Regions from separate parts of the Homo sapiens genome. Here region 2 is linked to region 1. Evidence: promoter capture Hi-C in 16 types of primary human blood cells and fetal thymus (Javierre and others, 2016). All regions are on one chromosome and are shown on one strand. The core of a region is centred on a gene start or on the middle of the fragment in contact, and the rest is flanking DNA. Distances in the headings are between cores, read along the strand shown. Region 1 holds the start of SPACA4 (sperm acrosome associated 4). Region 2 holds the start of KDELR1 (KDEL endoplasmic reticulum protein retention receptor 1).

Region 1 (3,804 bases), core at 1,035-3,534:
CCACGCTCGGGCTGGGTAAGTCTTTGTTTTAGGAGCTGTTGGGTGCATTGTGGGAGGCTCCTCGGCATCTTCAGCCTCCACCCAGCAGAGGTCAGTAGCATCACACGCCCCATACCCCCGACTTTCCCTGCCAATTAGAGAACCGAAAACCTCTCCAGACAGCGCAGATGCCCACTGGGGAGCACAGGTGCCCAGCTGAGAACACTGCTCAGGAACAGTGGCTTTCAACCCTGTGCATGCACCAGAATCCCTGGGAGCGCTTGTTAAAACACAGCTTTTGGGCTGGGCGTGGTGGCTCACACCTGTAATCCCAGCACTTTGGGAGGCCGAGGCAGGTGGATCACCCGAGGTCAGGAGTTTCAGACCAGCCTGATTAACATGGGGAAACCCTGTCTCTACTAAAAATACAAAAAATCAGCCGGGCCTGGTGGAATGCATCTCTAGTCCCAGCTACTCGGGAGGCTGAGGCAGGAGAATCGCTAGAACCTGGGAGGTGGAGGTTGCAGTGAGCCAAGATCGCGCCACTGCACTAAAGCCTGGGTGACCGAGCGAGACTCTGTCTCAAAAAATAAAAAAAAAAAAAAAAAAGGAAAAGAAAAAGAAAACGGAAAAAGGCCAGGCGTGGTGGTTCATGTCTGTAGTCCCAGCACTTTGGGAGGCTGAGGCAGGAGGATCGCTTGAGCCCAGGACTTCAAGACCAGCCTGGGCAACATAGCAGGACCCCATCTCTACAAAAATTTAAAAAAATAAAAATTAGACATGATGGAGCATGCTTCTAGTCCCAGCTACTCAGGAGGCTGAGGTGGGAGGATTGCTTGAGCCCAGGAGGTAGAGGCTGCAATGAGCCAAGATTGCACCACTGCACTCCAGCCTGGGCAGCAGAGCAAAACCCTGTTTCAAAAAGAAAAAGAGAGAACAATACACAGCTTTTGGACCCCACTGCCATTCATCGTGCCTGGAACAGGACCTGAGAATCTGCATTTTCAGGAAGTTCCCACTTGCTGCTGCTGCTGTTTCTGGTCCAGGGACCACACTTTGAGAATGATTGGAGTTGAGACCAGGATGTTTGAAATGTTTGAAAGAGTGTTTACCTTCCCAGCTTGGTGTGAGGATTCAGTGGCACGTAACGTAAGACAGGCTTGGCCAGGTGCCGTGGCTCATACCTGTAATCCCAGCACTTTGGGAGGCTGAGGTGGGAGGATCACTTGAGCCCAAGAATCCGAGACCACCCTGGGCAACATAGCTGGACCTTATCTCTACAAAAAGAAAAAAAAAAAAAGGAAAAGAAAAAGAAAAGAAAACAAAGAATGCTCCATGAACATCAGCTGTCATTTATTATGATATATATATATTTTTTACCATATTTCATGGACTCTAAAGTGCTACCAATGGAGAGAAGCATCCTGATTGAGATGTGAGAAGCTCTGCGTCTTAGAACCAGTGGAACAGAGTAATACAATCAAACCCACGGGCCGTGCTCCCCTGCCGCTCAGTCAGGCCTGGGGATGCTTCCCCTAGCACCGGGCTCCTGGTGGACAGCCTTAGAAGGGATGAAGCCAGGGCCGCAAGAGGTTGTCCAGGGCCTCTCTGGCCATTTAGTGGGGGAAGGACATGGGGACATGGGGAGTGGCGGATCTGGGAGAACAGTCCCAGGCCCTGTCCTCCCTGTTGGTCACAGCAAACGTGGAGGAAGCAGCATACCCAGCCCCAGTGCCAGGCTGGTGGTGGCCCCCACTGTCTGGCTGCTCGGGGCTCTGTTACACAGGCGGCCGGTGCAGCAGTTGGTGGTGAGGCTGTAGGTGACGCCCCTGTAGCTGACGGGTTCCTCAAGGCCGCAGCTGGTGGCTCGCAGGCAGCCTTTGTTGATGACCGGACCAGTGCCCGGGGCGACCCCGTGGCCTGTGAAGCAGTCCTCGTCATCGCCACAGTGCATGTAGGTACCAGGACACTGCATGGAGTCGGTGAGCTCACAGAAGACGCAGTCCTTGACGCCCGTCGTGCCTGGGGGCAGAGCCATCACCAGAAGCAGCAGCCAGCACAGGACCATGGCGGCCTGGCGGCGTTGACCCTGCCCCAGCCAGGCCGTGGGCTTCCCAGACCTCCCGGAACCGCTGAATGAAGGACCTCTGAGGACTCCTCTTGCCCACGGGACTTTGGCCCTGGTCCTGGCCTCCCAGGGTCAGCGCCTGGAGTGTCCTCTGTTCCCAACGCCCTGCGTCCCTCTAAGTCCTGGGGATGGAGGTGAGCGGGTGGCTGCTGCCCAACAAGAGTCTGTGAATGGAATGAGTGATCTCACAGATCCCTCAGGGTTCCCACTGGCCGCTCTGGGGATGAGGTCATAGGTGAGAGGAGTGGGTGTCACAATCCAAGGGGTGGCCTGCCCCGCCGACCTGCCGGGGCGCAAGAGGGCTCTGCCATCCCTGCCAAGGTGAAGACGCCCTGAACCCAGAGGACGCTGGCCACAAGCTTGTCCGCATTCTCTGTGCTGTACACCCGCCAAGGGCTTGACTTCAGCCTCACACCTCCCATAGTGACCCCATATTCCAGATGGGTAAACTAAGGCTGGGGAAAGTGATGTATCCAGGGTCCCCGAGCCAGGATGAGAGCCAGGTTCATTGAATTCCAAAGAGGCTGGGAAAGAAGAGGGTGTATTAACTGAGCACTTGCTGTGTGCCAGGATTCATGCTCAGTGCTTGCTTGCTTTTATTTTTTTGAGACGGAGTCTCTCACTCTGTCACCCAGGCTGGAGTGCAGTGGCGTGATCTCAGCTCACTGCAGCTTCTGCTTCCCAGCTTCAAGCGATTCTCGTAACTCAGCCTCCCGAGTGGCTGGGACTGCAGGCGCATGCAACCACATCTGGCTAATTTTTGTATTTTTAGTAGAGACAGGGTTTCACCATGTAGGCCAGGCTGGTTGCGAACTCTTGAGCTCAAGTGATCTGCCCGCCTCGACCTCCCAAAGTGCTGGGATTACAGACGTGAGCCACCACACCACGCCTGGCACTTGGTGCTTTCAATAACAACTACTGTGATGACAGGAAGTGTTAGGGCACCGGCCCCCACAGCTCACAGGCTCTCAGGGCCAGCTACGTGCAGGGGGCTTGATTCAAATTCAGTCATTTGAATATTCCTATGTTGTATTTATTTCTTAATTTTATTTTTTATTTTAAAAAATTGGCCGGGCGCAGTGGCTCACGCCTGTAATCCCAGCACTTTGGGAGGCCGAGGCGGGTGGATCACCTGAGCTCAGGAGTTCAAGACCAGCATGGCCAACGTGGTAAAACCCCATCTCTACTAAAAATACAAAAATTTGCTGGGCATGGTGGTGTGCACCTGTAATCCCAGCTACTTGGGAGGCTTGAACCTGGGAGGTGGAGGTTGCAGTGAGCCAATATTGTGCCACTGCACTTGAGCCTAGGCAATAGAGCAAGACTCCATCTCAAAAAAAAAAAAAAATAGGATCTTGCTCTGTTGCCTAGACTGGAGTGCAGTGGCGCGATCTTGGCTCACTGCAGCCTCAACTTCCCAGGCTCAAGTGATTCTCCTCCCTGAGCCTCCAGAGTAGCTGGGACTATAGGCGTGCACCACCATGCCCGGCTAATTTTGTAAAATTTTTTATAGAGATGGGGTCTTGCTATGTTGCCCAGGCTGGTCTCAAACTCCTAGCCTCAAGTGATCCTCCTGCCTCGGCCTCCCAAAGTGCTGGGATTACAGGCATGAGCCACTGCACACGGCCTTCCTAGGTTTTTGCTCCAGATTGCAGATGAGCACTGCAGGGAGCAGCAACGTGGAGAGCTTGGTGCAC
Region 2 (3,824 bases), core at 387-2,886, 220 kb after region 1:
TTGGGGACCGCCTCCAAGTCGGAGTCTCTTTTAAGGACTCAGTCATCCCGACTCTCCCCCGTACAAGCCACCCTCAGGGACCCAAGACTCGTGGATGTCACCCTTGGGCACCCCGTCCTTCCAGCCCTCTGAAGAAATCAACACGCCTGCACCCCTTCTTTTATTGAGGGACCCTGGCCTCCATCATCTGTGGGTACCCCATCATCCGGAAGGGAAGCCACGTCTGTCCCCTCATAGATGCAGGAGTCCAGACCACAGGCTGTTCCCCGGGGGTCCCACACCCAGATGCCCAGCATTCCCCTCCTGCTAGAGGGCTGGGCCCGGCACTTTTATAAAGCCACCCGTGGGGCTCTGGGGTAGAGCGTGGGGCAGGACACCGGGGCCTCTGAGGGTGGAAGAGGGTGTGTGTGTGTGGGCAGGGCAGAAACTCTGGAGCAGGGGGGAAGCCAGGGCCAGGGGCTCCTGAGGTAGTTTGGGTCAGAGTTTTGGCCTTGAGCCTCCTGGGTGAGGCTCCTGTTTCCTTCATCCTCAAGGTCTGGGAGAACAGGGTGAGGTGCACATTCCTGAAAAAGAAGAGAATCAGGGCCTAAATCTGTGGGTCGTAAAGGGAGAAACTGTAGATCTAGATTCTTAAGGTTAGGATGTTTGATCCATAAGATGGTGGGGGTGGGACCCTAAGTTCCAAGGAACAGCGTCCTAGGAGGGAAAAGGGCTGGGGCCCTGAACTCCTGGGTCTGAGGGAGGAGGGGCTGGGGCCCTGGACCCCTGGGTCTGAGGGAGGAGGGGCTGGGGCCCTGGACCCCTGGGTCTGAGGGAGGAGGGGCTGGGGCCCTGGACCCCTGGGTCTGAGGGAGGAGGGGCTGGGGATCTGGACTCCTGGGTCTGAGGGAGGAGGTGCTGGGGGTCTGGACTCCTGGGTCTGAGGGAGGAAGGGCTGGGGGCCTGGACTCCTGGATCTGGGGGAGGAGGGTCTGGGGGCCTGGAGTCCTGGGTCTGAGGGAGGAGGCTGGGGGCCTGGACTCCTGGGTCTGAGGGAGGAGGCTGGGGGCCTGGACTCCTGGGTCTGAGCGAGGAGGAGCTGGGCCTGGACTCCTGGATCTGAGGGAGGAGGGGCTGGGGGTCTGGACTTCTGGGTCTGAGGGAGGAGAGGCTGGGGGTCTGGACTCCTGGGTCTGAGGGAGGAGGGGCTGGGGACCCAGACTTCTGGGTTTGACGAACGGGCTGGGGCCTTGAGTCCTGGGTCTAGGGGAGGAAGTAGGTGGGGTATCTTTCTTGTCTTCTGGGGGATTGGAGTTAGAGTGCCTGAAAGCTGCAAAAGCTAGCAGCTGAGCCTCCGGGTCCCTGCAGGATTTTTCAAGCTCAGAGGGCAGTCTCTACATCCCTGCAAGGGCTGAGGCTGGTGTACTGGACTGCGTCTCTTCCAGAGACACAGACTGCCTGGGCGAACCGGTGCTGGATTTGGCACTTTCCGAACCCTGCGACCCTCCCAAGTTCCTATGGGGCAGCTTTGGGGGTGCGTTTAGCGCCGCCACGGCAAAGCAGGAGGTGGGCGATAGGGGGCGCCGGGGATCCAGGCCCCGCCCTCGGGGGCGGAGCCTCTCCTCCCGGACTCCTCCCCCTCTCGCTCTCCTCCCTCTTCCCGGCTCCAGCTCCGCCGCCAGCTCCAGCCTTTGCTCCCCCTCCCAAAGTCCCCTCCCCGGAGCGGAGCGCACCTAGGGTCCCTCTTCCGTCCCCCCAGCCCAGCTACCCGTTCAGACCAGCAGCCTCGGGGGGCACCCCCCCGCCAGCCTGCCTCCCTCCCGCTCAGCCCTGCCAGGGTTCCCCAGCCATGAATCTCTTCCGATTCCTGGGAGACCTCTCCCACCTCCTCGCCATCATCTTGCTACTGCTCAAAATCTGGAAGTCCCGCTCGTGCGCCGGTGAGAGGCCCACCAGGGCTGGCGAAGGAGAGAGATTGCGGGCGGGGGTTGGGGGACGTCGCAGGACTCAGGAAGGGTTTGGGGGCACTAGGGGCACAGGTTCCACCCCCACTGCTTGCTGGGGATCTCTCTTCTAGGTTCTGGGTCTCCAGGGGATCAGCTCCCTTCCCCAGACTGGCGGGGGTGCATACAGTTTCATGTGAATGGCTTTAGGCCCCCAATTCAGCCACCCCCAGCCCCAATCTGGGCAGCCCGAGGGTTCATGGACCGGGAACAGGGAACCATGGCAGGCGGGGAGGTGGCTGTGAGTTGGTGACGTGGACCGTGGCGGCCAGGAAGGGAACGGGAGGGAGGTGACCGGATCCGGGGCCTGAGGTCAGGGAAGGTCCTCCCTAGGCCTCACCTCAGGTCCAGACTGCGGGAGGACCCTGAGGGGCCAGGGGTAGCCATGAGGCCTAGTCTGGGACGGAGCCTCGGGCTGGAGTAGCTTCGGGGGCCTGGGCTGCCCCCTGGCTGTGGTCCGTGGGAAAGGGCCCTGCTCAGGCGGGGCGGGCTGGGGAGGCCTCCGGGGACAGCTGCACTCCAGAGCTGCCTCCAGGCTGGTCCCGGGCGCCCTGCCTTAGTTTATTGCCCATGCAGCCCACCCCCAGCTTCCTCTCTCCTTCTGTCTGTCTGTCTGTCTGTCTGTCTCTCTCTCTCTCTCTGTCTCTCTCTCTCTCTCTTTCTCTGTCTCTGGACCACAGGAATTTCAGGGAAGAGCCAGGTCCTGTTTGCTGTGGTGTTCACTGCCCGATATCTGGACCTCTTCACCAACTACATCTCACTCTACAACACGTGTATGAAGGTAGAGGCTCCACCCCACCTCTCTGGCCCCCACTGAGGCAGAGGAGCCGGGTGTGGGTCCCAGACTCCTAGGTCTGAGGGAGGAGGGGCTGGGGGCCTGGACTCCTGGGTCTGAGGGAGGAGGGGCCGGGGGCCTGGACTCTTGGGTCTGAGGGAAGAAGGGACTGAGGCCTGGACTCCTGGGTCTGAGGGAGGAGGGGTTGGGGGTCTGGACTCCTGGGTCTGAGGGAGGAGGGGCCGGGGGCCTGGACTTTTGGGTCTGAGGGAGGAAGGGACTGGGGCCTGGACTCCTGGGTCTGAGGGAGGAGGGGCTGGGCCTGGACTCTTGGGTCTGAGGGAGGAGGGGCTGGGCCTGGACTCCTGGATCTGAGGGAGGAGGGAATGGGGCCCTGGACTCCTGGGTCTGAGGGAGGAGGGGCTGGGGGCCTGGACTCCAGGGTCTGAGGGAGGAGGGGTTGGGGGCCTGGACTCCTGGGTCTGAGGGAGGAGGGGCTGGGGGCTTGGACTCCTGGATCTGAGGGAGGAGGGGTTGGGGGCCTGGACTCCTGGGTCTGAGGGAGGAGGGGCTGGGGGCTTGGACTCCTGGGTCTGAGGGAGGAGGGGTTGGGGGTCTGGACTCCTGCGTCTGAGGGAGGGGCCTGGACTCCGGGCTCTGAGCCTACTGGGGCACAGGCCTGTGAGTTGAGGCCCCTTCTCATCATCCCCCTCCTCAGGTGGTCTACATAGCCTGCTCCTTCACCACGGTCTGGTTGATTTATAGCAAGTTCAAAGCTACTTACGATGGGAACCATGACACGTTCAGAGTGGAGTTCCTGGTCGTTCCCACAGCCATTCTGGCGTTCCTGGTCAATCATGACTTCACCCCTCTGGAGGTAGGCGCCTTGCTGTGACTCCTTATTTGGGGGGATGGTTGTGGCAGAGTAGCTATGACAGGAGACCCTCTCACAGGCTTCCTTCTGCAGGGTGTGCCCAAACTGCCTTATTTTAGGATGCATAAGTTCAGTGCATGGGCTCTGGGGTCAGAGGAAATTAACACAACAGCAGCAAGACTCGCTATGTGTC

Evidence for each region. The method cuts DNA at HindIII sites, captures the fragments that hold promoters and counts their contacts. A CHiCAGO score of 5 or more calls a contact.
Region 2: a contact is called between the fragment with the promoter of KDELR1 here and the fragment with the promoter of SPACA4 in region 1, in 2 of 17 cell types (M0 macrophages and monocytes). The highest score is 6.7, in M0 macrophages.

Annotation. Positions count from the first base shown.
Region 1 is chr19:48,605,222-48,609,025 of GRCh38, reverse strand. SPACA4 (sperm acrosome associated 4) reads right to left here and starts at 2,284. Exons shown (of 1, transcript NM_133498.3): 1 at 1,312-2,284. The coding sequence starts at 2,047. The coding sequence ends at 1,673. The region is part of intron 5 of FAM83E (family with sequence similarity 83 member E); the gene reads left to right. The HindIII fragment of the contact is 9,007 bases long and covers 1-2,468 here.
Region 2 is chr19:48,389,363-48,393,186 of GRCh38, reverse strand. KDELR1 (KDEL endoplasmic reticulum protein retention receptor 1) reads left to right here and starts at 1,636. Exons shown (of 5, transcript NM_006801.3): 1 at 1,636-1,919; 2 at 2,663-2,763; 3 at 3,476-3,634. The coding sequence starts at 1,829. RefSeq lists a silencer at 1,480-1,799 and an enhancer at 2,670-2,809. The HindIII fragment of the contact is 34,435 bases long and covers 1-3,824 here.